Regions from separate parts of the Homo sapiens genome. Here region 2 is linked to region 1. The links are contacts of gene promoters, found by promoter capture Hi-C in blood cells and fetal thymus (Javierre and others, 2016). All regions are on one chromosome and are shown on one strand. The core of a region is centred on a gene start or on the middle of the fragment in contact, and the rest is flanking DNA. Distances in the headings are between cores, read along the strand shown.

What was found. Contacts are between HindIII fragments. The CHiCAGO score rates a contact against its expected background, and 5 or more counts as called.
Region 2: a fragment that was not itself captured here is called in contact with the fragment with the promoter of DPT in region 1 in 1 of 17 cell types (M2 macrophages); the score reaches 5.9 in M2 macrophages.

The regions. Positions count from the first base shown.
Region 1 is chr1:168,725,229-168,731,683 of GRCh38, reverse strand. DPT (dermatopontin) reads left to right here and starts at 2,478. Exons shown (of 4, transcript NM_001937.5): 1 at 2,478-2,814. The coding sequence starts at 2,510. The HindIII fragment of the contact is 3,243 bases long and covers 1-3,116 here.
Region 2 is chr1:169,304,240-169,310,694 of GRCh38, reverse strand. NME7 (NME/NM23 family member 7) reads left to right here. Exons shown (of 12, transcript NM_013330.5): 4 at 615-725. Among named protein-coding and RNA genes, the nearest start is that of NME7, 60 kb to the left of the region's middle. The HindIII fragment of the contact is 5,271 bases long and covers 449-5,719 here.

The sequences.
Region 1 (6,455 bases), core at 1,229-3,728:
TGGTGGGAGAAGATGGTGCTAAAAACAAAACTAAGCCTCACATAGCTGTTCAGCCCAGATCCTCTCCCCCTCGCTTCAGTAACCATGATCATCAAAGAAAACTGCATGCCCAACACACACACAAACACACACACACACACACACACACACGAGTTACTTGTTGCTTTATTCTCATGTATGACTGTCTTTCCCTTTCAAGACTATCTTGGTGTTTGATCTAGACTGAATACCGTCTGGTAAATGTGCCACAGGCTAGGCAGATGGTGGGATTAATAGTGTGATTTTTCTCTGGCTCCACATTCCTTTAGGAAGGTGACTCTTAGCAATTGATGTGAATAAGAATCACCTGGAAAATTTTTTAAAATATAAATACCTGAGCACCCCTTGTGAGGTTATGATTTAGCAGGCCTGGAGAAGAGCCACTGTCTACATTTTAACAAACTTCACAGAGGCTGTAGATAGAATTGGTCTATGATCACAATTCTAAGAAACTTTAAGAACAATACTGATGAGAAATGGGAAATACTATGTGCTTAAGAGATGCCCAAAGGTTTCAAAAAATTTGAAAAGCCAAATCATCAACGGATGCATGGAATGGGTAATGAGCACATGAAAAGATGCTCAAAATCATGGATCATTAGAGAAATGAAAATCACAACCACACTGAAATATCACTACAAACCTATTTGAATAGCTAAAATTTTTTAATGGCAATTTTCTGGTAGTGGTGGGCAATGGTATCACCACTTTGGAAATCAGCTAGGTAGTTTCTTGCTTTCTTTTTTTTGTTTTTTTGAGACGGAGTCTCGCTCTGTAGCCCAGGCTGGAGTGCAGTGGCACAATCTCGGCTCACTGCAAGCTCCGCTTCTCGGGTTCACGCCATTCTCCTGTCTCAGCCTCCCGAGTAGCTGGGACTACAGGCGCCCGCCACTAAGCCTGGCTAATTTTTTGTATTTTTAGTAGAGGCGGGGTTTCACCATGTTAGCCAGGATGGTCTCGATCTCCTGACCTCGTGATCCGCCCGCCTCGGCCTCCTAAAGTGCTGGGATTACAAGCATGAGCCACCACACCCGGCCTCAGTAGTTTCTTTTAAAGTTAAACATACATTACCTTGTGAACCAGCAATCTCACTCCTAGGTATTGACCCAAATGAAATAAAAATTTGTTCACACAAAAACCTATACATAGATGTTTATATCAACTTTATAATTACATTTATGTAATTCATTATATAAAATATAATGAATATAAAATTCATTACATAAAAAGTAATGAATTTTCAAAAACTGGAAACAACCCAAATGTCTTTCAACTAGTAAATGTATAAACAATCTGTGGTACATCCATGCTATGGAATATTACTCAACAATAACAAGAAACAAAATACTAACACATACAATGAGATGTTGAATTTTAAAATGGATGAACCTTAAAAGCATTATGCTAAGTGAAAGATGGACATGAAAGGCTACGTGTGGTATGATTCCATTTACTTGACATTCTGGAAAAGGCAAAACCATAGAGACAGAAAGTAAATCAGTGGTTACCAATGGCTGGGTGTTTGGGAAGATTTGACTGCAAAGGGATATAAGGGGATGTTTTGGATTGATGGAACTGTTCTAAGTCTTGATTAGGGTGCTGGCTATGTTACTGTACATTATGTATTTTAAAAGGTGAATTAATTATATGTAAATTATAACTCAATGAAAAGAAAATTCAATGTGAGGGCAAAAATACTGAAGGATAAATAGGGGGTTTATTTAGATTAAACCCATTACATTTTGAGAGCAGAGCACACTTTCTAGACTTGACTGGGTCCAATTTCAGCAGCATGGTAGAATGCTTAAGTGTAGAAATCATATCCAACTTATCTCCCCATGGGCCCATAGTACTTCCTTATGCAACTTATGAGTTCTCAGAGTAGCCCTGCAAACTGGTATACCCGCGCTTATACTCAAGGGTTAAAAAGTGTTGGATTGACAACTTAAAAAAAAAAACAGGCATTCAGCCTTACAGAAATCCTAGATGGCTCTGTTACTTCAGTCTATGATTTCGGTATTTTGAAATCACTGTCTGGGTATTTGTGTGGCCCGGAAGGCTAGTTTGGAGAACAAATACAGGGGTTTGCTAGTAGCGGGTAGGGTAGGACAGAAAGGGGTGAGGTGCTGAAAGGTGAGGGACAAATATGCTACTAATCAGTGTTTTTCAAGTGAATATTTCTACAGGGTAGAGCAGCAGTTGGCTTTTATAATCTAGATACAAAGTTGTTCTTTCTCCAGGGAGCTTCTTAGACTTACATGCTGCTGGTATATTCCTAGAATTCCACCTTAAAACAAGCTGAATGTCCTTATGGCTGACATCTCAGCATGGAAAAGTTTTGCTTAAGCAATGACACACTGCAGTTGGATCCTTCTCACCCACATCTGGAAGCCACATGTCAGCGGCAGCTATATAAAACGGTCAGACCAGCAATCTTAGAGTGACATTGTTTGCCAAAATCCCAGGCAGCATGGACCTCAGTCTTCTCTGGGTACTTCTGCCCCTAGTCACCATGGCCTGGGGCCAGTATGGCGATTATGGATACCCATACCAGCAGTATCATGACTACAGCGATGATGGGTGGGTGAATTTGAACCGGCAAGGCTTCAGCTACCAGTGTCCCCAGGGGCAGGTGATAGTGGCCGTGAGGAGCATCTTCAGCAAGAAGGAAGGTTCTGACAGACAATGGAACTACGCCTGCATGCCCACGCCACAGAGCCTCGGGGAACCCACGGAGTGCTGGTGGGAGGAGATCAACAGGGCTGGCATGGAATGGTAAGGGCCAGTCCCTGCACTGCACTGGGGCTGGGAACATCTCTGCATATCCCTCCTCCTGGGGGCTGCTAGACTCTCAAGGAATATCAGTAACCAAAGCCTGGGCAAATCCCACCCCAAACCTCACCACTGCATGCTCTGGGTGGAGCAGGGCTGCTGCTGAGCGGACTACATGACAGGACAAAAACCTGGGATGGGGAGTGTCTGTGGGAGACAGACTCCTCTGTGGCTCTGTTCCTTCCAGAAGCTGTTCTACCTACTCTCAGTTTGGGCCAGGGGCTGGTGTAGGTCGGCGAGAAGCTTGCTTACCAGACTACCAAAAGATATGTACAGAAACTGAAAGTAATAAACTTTATAGAAATTAAAACTTTCTGTGCCATCGGAATGGCATTTTTCTTTTTTAGAAATTTATTTTTACCATTTTACAAAAGTACTGGCCCACAGTAGTTTGGGAACAAGAAAAATAAACAATTGATCTCTCAGCACGGAGGGTTTGAGAACTATTGATTTAGAGCAAGTGAATGGAAAAGAGGGGACAAGGACATTTAGGCAAAAGAAAGTGGAATTAAATAGCTGTCTACTGCCTTGATTAAATGTGCTCTCTCAATTATGAGTACTGAGGTCCTTCTCTCTGCCTGAATTTAAAGTGGGTTTTATTGCTGGAAAATAGTTTACTAAAGGGTTTTGGAGAGAGGTGCTGTCTTCCCCTGACTGCATTCTGCCTTAAGCAGTGGCATGGAATTTTTTCGAGCTTGTACTTTTTTGTGGGGTGTGATTGTCTCAGCTGGGTCTCAGCCCAGGTGCTTGGTCAGGAGCTCATCCTAGTAGGCACTGACTGCTAGGCTGATTATTTACAACAGCCTAGATGGAGCCAGCACTCTAGGAGGCTTGGAGGAGAGAACGGAGGAGGCAGTCCAGGGAGGAGGAAGCCCACCTGGAGGGCTGCTGCATGTGCTATCTGTAGAGCAACCCAGATGTGTGGCAACAAGTACTTAGTGTAGTGGGGATTGGAGGGGTCAAGCACAAAATCTGGCCAGGTGTGGTGGCTCACGCCTGTAATCCCAAACACTTTGGGAGGCTGGGGAGGGAGGATCACTTGAGATCAAGAGTTCGAGACCAGCCTAGGGAACACAGCCAGACCCTATCTCTACAGAAAAAAAAAAATTAGCCCGGTGTAGTTGCATGCAGCCTGTGGTCCCAGCTACTCAGGAGGCTAAGGTAGGAGGATCACTTGAGCCCAGGGAGTCGAGGCTGCAGTGAGCCATGCTCGCACCACTGTATTCCCTCCTGGGTGGCAGAGCAAGACTCTGCCTCAAAAAAAAAAAAAAAAGAAAATAGAAAAAAGAAAAAGCATAGAACCCTGGGGGACACAACCAGTAGAGAGGTGATGATGGGAAATCCAAGAGGAAGAAACACCGATGGGTGGGGGAGCCAGGAAAGAGAGCGGGCCTTTAAGTAATGACAACAGCTACCATTTATTGAGTGCTTACCCTGAGCAGGCTCCATGCTAAGTGCTTTATGTGGATCATCTCGTGTAATGCTCAAAACAAGGGTATATCCCATTTATAGGTAGACAAACTGCAGTCTAGAGATCCAGTATTTCCTCGGCTAGAAAGCTGGGGTTTGGATCCACAGAGTCTTTGCTTCAAAGAGTTTGTACTTTGCCACAGTGACGGGCTCCTGAGAGGCTGCTGCCTCCACCCAGAGTGGGCTCCCACCCGACAGCTGACTCTGTCAGCAGAGCCAGTGCCACAGGACCAGATTCAGGGCAGTTCTTCCTCCTGGAGAGGGTGGGGACCTGCAAGACCACAGCAGAAGCCCAGCCCCAGAGGGATGATCCCTACTTGGTTACCAGGACTGTGGAGGGGCTCAGCCGGACTGTAGAAGGGGTGGGGAGAGGACTCACACAGGCAGCAGCAGGTGAGGGTGCCGGGGCTGTGGAGGCTGCTTGGACAGCCTTTGTGGGCCATTCTCATCCACCCCCATGGCCTCTGGTGAGCAGATTTAGTTATTCAAAACCCCTTCTGACAGATGCTGATTCAGAGACCAGGCTCACCTTGATTGTTGTCTCCATGACTCCTCACAGCCAGGCCCACTGCCTAATGTGGAGCATGGCAATGACCTAATTACAACTGTCCCTCCAGTCCTCACCTCTCAGGAGCACTATCGCATGGGTGCGACTCCTTTCTAACAGCCGTTTTTTGTGCCACAGTCAAGCAGCACTCAGCCATGGTTCCCCAAGCCATAGAGGAAGAGCCCTAGGCTCTGAATCAGGAGGCCTGGGTCTGGATCCTGGTTCTAATGACTTGTGGTGTGACCTTGGCCCAGACGCTCAGCCCTCCAGTCTCCCGCCTCATTTGGAAAGTGAGCAGTCAGGCTGCATGATCTCTGAAGGCTCCACAGAGCTGTGGCTCACCCCTGAAAACACTCTTGGCTTTTTCTTGCATTCTGTTGATCTTTGTGTTCATCCCTGCTAGAGAGAGAAGCCAAATGATGTTTAGTTTTAAACTTGCCAACTGTGACTGGTTTGTCATGAACTCCCAAACTATTTGAAGAAAAGCAAAAGAGGAAGAAGGTGAAATAACATGATTTTATTTGGCCCATGGGAGTCAAGGGAAAAGCTGATAGGCGAGATACCTCTTCCACCTCCTCTTACTCGGCATTTTTGGGTGTGCAGTGTCTAGTAATTTTGGTTTCCTTTCCTCCTTCCACCCTCTGTTGCCTCCTTCTCCCCGTCTACTAATCACAGGGTTGAAAACTCACAAACATGCAAAACAACTTCTTTACAATAAGATCCAGCTGCCCCAGGACTGACACGAATTACCCTGGAAGCACTTTTAAAAATGATTATGCCTTTGAGTTCAGCCTCCAGTCTCAGTGAAAAATCTGTAAGGAAAGAAATTGCTTATGGGCTGGGGAGCTATTACATCTGACGTTGGCTACAGGCTTAGTCTGTTCTCAGGGAACAGTTGTTGATGGTTTTGTGCAGTTGGGCTGCCTTGTATAACCAAATTAGCTTTCAGGTTTATTTTAAAAGAGGGGAGGAGTCTCGAATATAGGCTTGACAATAGCACATAGGATCTGCTAAAAAGAAAATCTTTCTAATCAAAGTGCCATCTTTAAAAGGTGTTGCCATCATAGCTGAGTGGTCTGTGGTGCTGCCATTGATCACAGTTTCTCTGTTGAAAATCACCTCTTCAAGTGCCGGCTTCTGAAGTTTGGATGATGGTCTCTGGCACTAACAACTACCAGGAGGCCTTACCTGGGTCCCCATGAGTGGTATTTCACCATCCCAGGGCATGCCTAGGTTGTTCTCAGGGAATCTGCTCTAACTTGGGTCAGCACAGGCTGTAGGGCACTGGGTCCTGTGTGGAATAAGATGAAGGTGAAATTTTCTAGTGAGATTGAGCTACTGTGTAGCGGAAGGAGCCCTGGGCTTGGATGCAGGAAACCTGGATTCACAGCTCCTGCTTGTATCTGTGACATTCGGTATCTCATTCTGGCAAAAAAGAAAGAGAAGAAAGAAAGAAAGAGAGAGAGAGAAGGAAGGGAGGGAGGGAGGAAGGAAGGATTGAAGGAAGGAAGGAAAGAAGGAAGGAAGAAAGGAAGGGAAAGAGAAAGGAAAGGAAAGGAAAGGAAAG
Region 2 (6,455 bases), core at 1,835-4,334, 580 kb before region 1:
AATCTTCAGAGGGGGAGAGTGGAGAATGCATTGTTCTGATGTATCCTCCTGGAGAAAAACATGATTTTAAAAGTTAGCATGTTGTTACGTATTCATATACATTGTTGTATAAGAAGACATTTGATTCTTCATGCAGTCACCCATGTTATGAATAAAGAGTCAATAGAAGAATTTATAATTATTTCCAAATCAATGTTGAACTGACTATATAGCATACATATGTTGAAGTCTAAGAGACCAAAAACCAAGCTCATAATATATTTAATGCAATGTTTTAGAGATTAGTCCTTTGTATAAAATGTATTCTAAGAAATGGAGATTCTAAATGCCTGTGTTTTCTCATTTGGATATATTAAAAATAATTAAATTTTAGTGCTTTTTTTCCTAAGCTTCTCCCTCCCCCAAGTTTAGTATCTAATTTTGATGTTCATGGGAAAAATACTAAGCTTACTTTGTGTAAGTTTTTAAGGGATGTCTTTAATACACTTTTCTATACAATTAATTTCAAATTTTGATGATCTAGGATGATTGTTGAGAATACTGCTGCTTGGGAATTATAAATAAAAACTGTTGAACTATTTTTATTTGCAAACTTATTTTTTGTTTCCTTATAGAACGCTAGCCCTAATTAAACCAGATGCAATATCAAAGGCTGGAGAAATAATTGAAATAATAAACAAAGCTGGATTTACTATAACCAAACTCAAAATGATGATGCTTTCAAGGTAATTTTTTTATCATTTTCAGTTATGTAATGTCTGATTCCTTTTTAAAAAATCATTTTCTGTCTTTCTTGTCATTGTTTAAAATTAAAAAACCTCGTATTGAATGACAAAGAATAGAATAGTAACTTAACCAAAATGGGAACTGACAGGAGTTCATCTAGAATGTTACTGACAAAGCCGGCCCCCTAAAAGATTTGATCTTTTCCTATTCAGTGTCATGAAGCCCATATACAAAACCGAAAGTGAGTATCAAGCAGTGCAGGCTTTATTCAGTGTCTGTGGAATTGAGAAACAGGAGTGTGGCTCACAAATCAACTTCTCAACTAGTGAGGGGTGAGGGGGTTAAAATAAAGGATTTCTCTAATAAAGGACATGAAAAGCAAGAGGAGCAATATGCATGTCTTTTCTGGAAATTGGTGGTGAACTTCCACCAGTTTCACAATTGATGGTGAATCGCAGTGCTGCTTTCCTTTTTGTCTTTTTATGGCCTCTTCCGGTCATTGTCATGGTGATTTTCAGCTGTCATGGTGCTGGTGGGAGTGCCATATAGTATGAAAATGAGATTATAATGAAGCCCGAGGTCTTTTTGATGTCATTTGGTTGCATATCTTGGTTCTAACCAGTCTTAACTGGTCTGGTTGTAAAGGGAACCTTTTATTGCAGAAGTCCTGTTTCTTAAAGATAAGCAAAGTTAGGACAGGGTAGAAATTCAGCTGTCATGTAGGCATTACACCAGGCAACAAAAAGAAAAAGAAGAAAGAAAAGAACAATAAGACACCAAGTAATCAGATGCATAAATAACCACTGAAGTCTAAGTAATTAGGAGTTGTCAAATTATGCATGCCTCATTTAATTATTATTGTCTTTCAAAACCCCATCTGCTTTTATAACACCAGTGCTTGATAATTATAATCATTTCTTAATATATAAGGATAACACACTGTATAAAATTAATAGAGGAAATGATGTCTGATTATTTTTATTTGACAAGAGGATTTACTGTTGAGATTTCCAAAGATGATGCATTTGGAAATGTTTACATTTAGCTCTTCTTATTATAAATAATAGGCAAATATACCTATTTATTTTTTACCTAGATAGGTAAATATACCTATCTAACAAGCAGTACAACCTGTTTGACCAGATATTTTCTAAGTTATTTAGTGAAAATAAGACTTATACATTTACTTATCCCTTTCTATCATGAAGTAAGTAACTCTAACCCCGTAAGAATGGCAAGGAGAATATTAACAACGTACAAACAAAGGATAGGGAAAACCTTCTCTTCAGTTTTTTTTAGAGATCCTTTAGAAAAAAAACTAGTGATTTTTCCATGATATTGGACATTTGTTTTTAAAAAATTTCCTACCAAATGGACAAAGCAAAGACTGAAACATTCTGGAAGATGAAGAAGGGAGATGAGTATAGGACAGAGGCCTTTGTTTCCTGGGATCACCCTCTGGTTGGCTGAGTGTAACACAGAGTGTCTCTAGGGACAGGAATGTAGCAGTTAGGCAGATCTGGCTCCAATAGTGTTCTTATGTTTCTCCACTAGTTTTTGTTTGTTTTTGGTCAGATATCTTCTTAATGCTTCAATAAATCATTCATTTCTGGATTTATTCCATGGGTCAGTTGCATTTTTGTTTCTGTGAGAGCAGGGACAATGGGGAGCAGTAGACATTCAAGTCAGCTTCAATACATCTGATTCCGAGAAACTTTAACACAAAACCCTCCATTTTACCCTGACAATGACATGTTTAATTGGAATTTTTCCCTTATGTATGATCTCCTAGTTTACATATTTTCTAGAGAGACAGGAGGCTTACATTTCAGAGCACAGTATTTAGACCAGATTGCTTGTAACTGTGCTACTTACTAGGTGTGTGACTGAACAGTTGACCACTGTGTTTATTTCTTCATTTGCAAAATGGGATTTTTTTTTTTTTTTTTGAGATGGAGTCTTGCTCTGTTGCCCAGGCTGGAGTGTAGTGGCACGATTTCGGCTCACTGCAACCTCCACCTCCCAGGTTCAAGCAATTCTCCTGCCTTGGCCTCCCAAGTAGCTGGAACTACAGGAGCACACCACCACGCCCGGGTAATTTTTGTATTTTTAGTAGAGACGGAGTTTCGCCATGTTGGCCAAGCTAGTCTTGAACTCCTGACCTCAAATGATTCACCCGCCTCAGCCTCCCAAATTGCTGGGATTACAGGCATGAGCCACCGCGCCTGGCTTAAAATGGGATTTATAATAGTACCTATCTCATAAAGTAGTTGTGAGGGTTACATGAGTTTAGTGTCTCTATACTTCTAGTGTCTGATGACTTGGTATCTAACTTCCTGTGGTAAAGATGCTACTTGTTTATCATAATGGCCCTATAGCACATGAAGAAAAATGCTAAAACCAGCAAACACTTCAAGAGCACCATAGGGCATACATTTGCTAGTTTCTTTGAAACCTTAAGTCTTGTTAATTCCACCCATGCCTTTTGAAATACTTCATTCTTTGGAGTACCACAGATGCAAGCCCTTCTAATTACTTGTTGACACACCTGTTCATTTGTAGTTATGCACTTCCTTTTCCCATAGTCTTCTGAACACAAATCTCTTACCAAACCATTTTCACTGGCCCCTCTGGAAATCAAGTTTCATTGTGAACAAATATCCCTATGTCCATAGTGTCTTAACAGAGTGTATCTTTGCCCGCACATTTTTAGTTTAGTTGAAATCTGACCCTTCTCCAGGGACATTCCTTTCCTTTTAGCCCTGTAGGCTGCTCACTCACAAATGTTTCTTATGTCACAGGGTCACGATATAGCGTATTTTAGCTCTCTCCTAAAAATCTATACTCTTCTTCATCCTTGGAAATTCATGTTATTTAGTTGTTTTACCATCCACTGAGCCTCATTTCCATTCTACAGTTCACAAACTCCACATTTGTTAAAGATTTGGGCACTTTGTTTATAGTCTCCTTCTATTCCAGTGTCTCCTGACAGTTGGGATGACTTCAACATCTCTGTCAGTGATCATCCAGGGCTCTGCTCTATTTGCTTTCCCATCTCAGTGACGGTCACTATGATTTCAATTAGGTATTCCTCCAGATCCTTGCTTTTTGTTTTTTTAAAAAACGTGGTCTCGCTTTGTTGCCCAGGCTAGTCTCGAACTGGCCTCAAGTGAGTCTCCTGCCTTGTACTCCCAAAGTGCTAGAATTACAGGCATGAGCCACTGCATCCAGCTTGTTGTATGTTATTTTCTTTACAACTTTACTTGAGTAGTCCCATGCATGTCCATATGATCACCTACCACTTACTTATAGATGAATTCCAAATACATCTTCAGCCTTGACTTCTCTCTGCAACTGTCAATCTGAAAGTGATCCTAGATTCATCTTGCTGCTCCCCCATTCCTCATACCTACCTGATATATAAATATTTTTACTTCTGCTTTCTGTATATCTCTGGGAGCAATTCTCTCCTTATAATTCCTATTGCAGCCCCTTAGTTTAGGCATTTTATAGGCTCATATTCAGGCTTTCAACGTATCAACATAGGCTACTGACTGATTTGTCTACTTCTTGACTTACTACCTTCTATTCCTTGATGGCTCATTTCCTACCTCAAGATTGCTCCATGCCATTTTCTTATTGCCATTAGAATGAACCTCATAAAATGAAAATTTGAACATGTTACCATTCCCTTCCTTAAATCCGTCAGTGGTTTCCCATATGCAGGAAAATATGGTCAAGCAGACAAGCTCTTTGATAGAGTATACAAGACTCTTAGTCATCTGTACTCACCTACTGTAATAGCTCTAAGAGGATACTTAGGTTTCAGTTCCCTGAACATGTTGTGCTTTATCACATCTCAGTTTTCTTGTACATAATATTGTACTGTCTTGAATGCTCTGCCTTGTCTTCTGTCTCATCCATTCCTATTCATCGTTCAGAACCAACTCAAATGTCTCATGGAAACTAATTCCCAAGAAAACTTAACTGCTTATCTAATCATTCATATCACTTCATATATTTTTATTAGTATGTTGAGCTTGAGATTTCATCCAATTTATAAGCTAGGAAGTTACCTGTAACTCTTCCATGGATGTTAGCAGATGACATGAGACTTCTGGGTCAGAGACAAAAGACTTTATAATGGTAGAGCAAGCAGCATGAGCATTGTGTTTATATTGGTTCTCCTTGCCTCCATATCCTACAGGAATAAAATGACCAATGCCCAGGTGTATACTGTGTATCTAGAGGGTGGCATCACAACTGAGGAGGAGTGAGCTTGGGTTACCAGCTGTTCCATTAGCAAGCAATAAACAAGCCTACTCTTTATACTGAAGAGAGGCTTTACCTTATCCCTCAAGGTTTCTTGTTGCAAACACAATCCTGAGAAACGACACCGATGAAGATCAGTCAGGTCCTTGCATTCTTGGCATACCCGATAAGACAAGTTAGAAGAGAGAAACTCACCTGGAGGAATTTCTCACAATGTATGCATCTTTTCTAAAATTGTTTGTTCAAATGTCGGTTCCGCCATGATGACAATATCCAGAAGATAGCTGCTGAGTTCTGTATGACTTTGTATTTCTAGTTCTTGGATCAGTGCCTCAATCAAGGTTGGCATTAAGTAAATATTTCTTGAAAGGGTTAATGGATAGATCTTTGTGAAAGAATGGTTAGTTTCTTCATAAAAACACAACAAAACATAACAAAACAACAAAAAACTTCTCTAGATAGTGATTCACTTGTTAATACCTATTTCCTTCTAAACCTTTAAAGCAAAGAATTAGATAAGAATGATGGGAAAAAATTTATGAACTCTCATCGTGGTTTCAATTTTAGATTTTGAATGGAGATAACTATGGAATCAGGGACATGTTGGATGAAAACAATGAAACATTTTTAGTAATGGATTGAGGTTTTTCTTTTCAATGACGTTAAAGATTATGATTGCTTTTTCCTTTCTTGTAGTTCAGTTTTTTGCGTTTGAAAAGCTTAGAATTGGTTGTTTTAGTATTCTTCTGCTAACTCTTCTAATTTACTCTCCATGTAAGTTTTTCAGTTATTCAGTTTTACCCCATTTTAGGCTGTAATGCAGTATATACGTATCTCTTTTTTTGTGAGTTTTTCTCTTTACCCTCTAGAATGTTGTTCTACAGTTAGTAGTAGCAAGAGCATAAGCAGTCAGAAATTTGCAATCAGAGAGCTTTGGGTTCAAATCTTCTTGTCTTGTCCTTACTAGCTTTGTGAACTGGACAACTTATGTAACCATGCTGAACTTTATTCTTTTCCGATGTAAAATAAAGGTGATCACACCTATTTCAATATATTGTTGTAAGGAATAAATATAATAATTTAATCATGGCTATAATTGGCTCTAGAAAATTTTGATTTTTTTCTCCTTTCCATGTCTCGGGATGAATTTTATTCTCTATATTGGCATTACATATTTCATAATCTCTTCATAGCCAAATGAATGTTTAAGTACATTTGGTTAGAATGAGAGTATGCGTGATATAACTTGTTATGTAAATTCATTTTGTAATATCCTGATAAAATCTTAAAAGCATTGCATATCAAATGAATTCTCAAGCCTGAAAGGTTGATTCTTTGCTAGGGAACAGTTTCCAGTTTTAAAAGTAGTTAATGTTTACATATATTTGTCACATACTGTGAACCCAGTTCAAAGCCTTTAAGAAAACTACACAGTGTTAGGAGAGTCATCTGGTTTG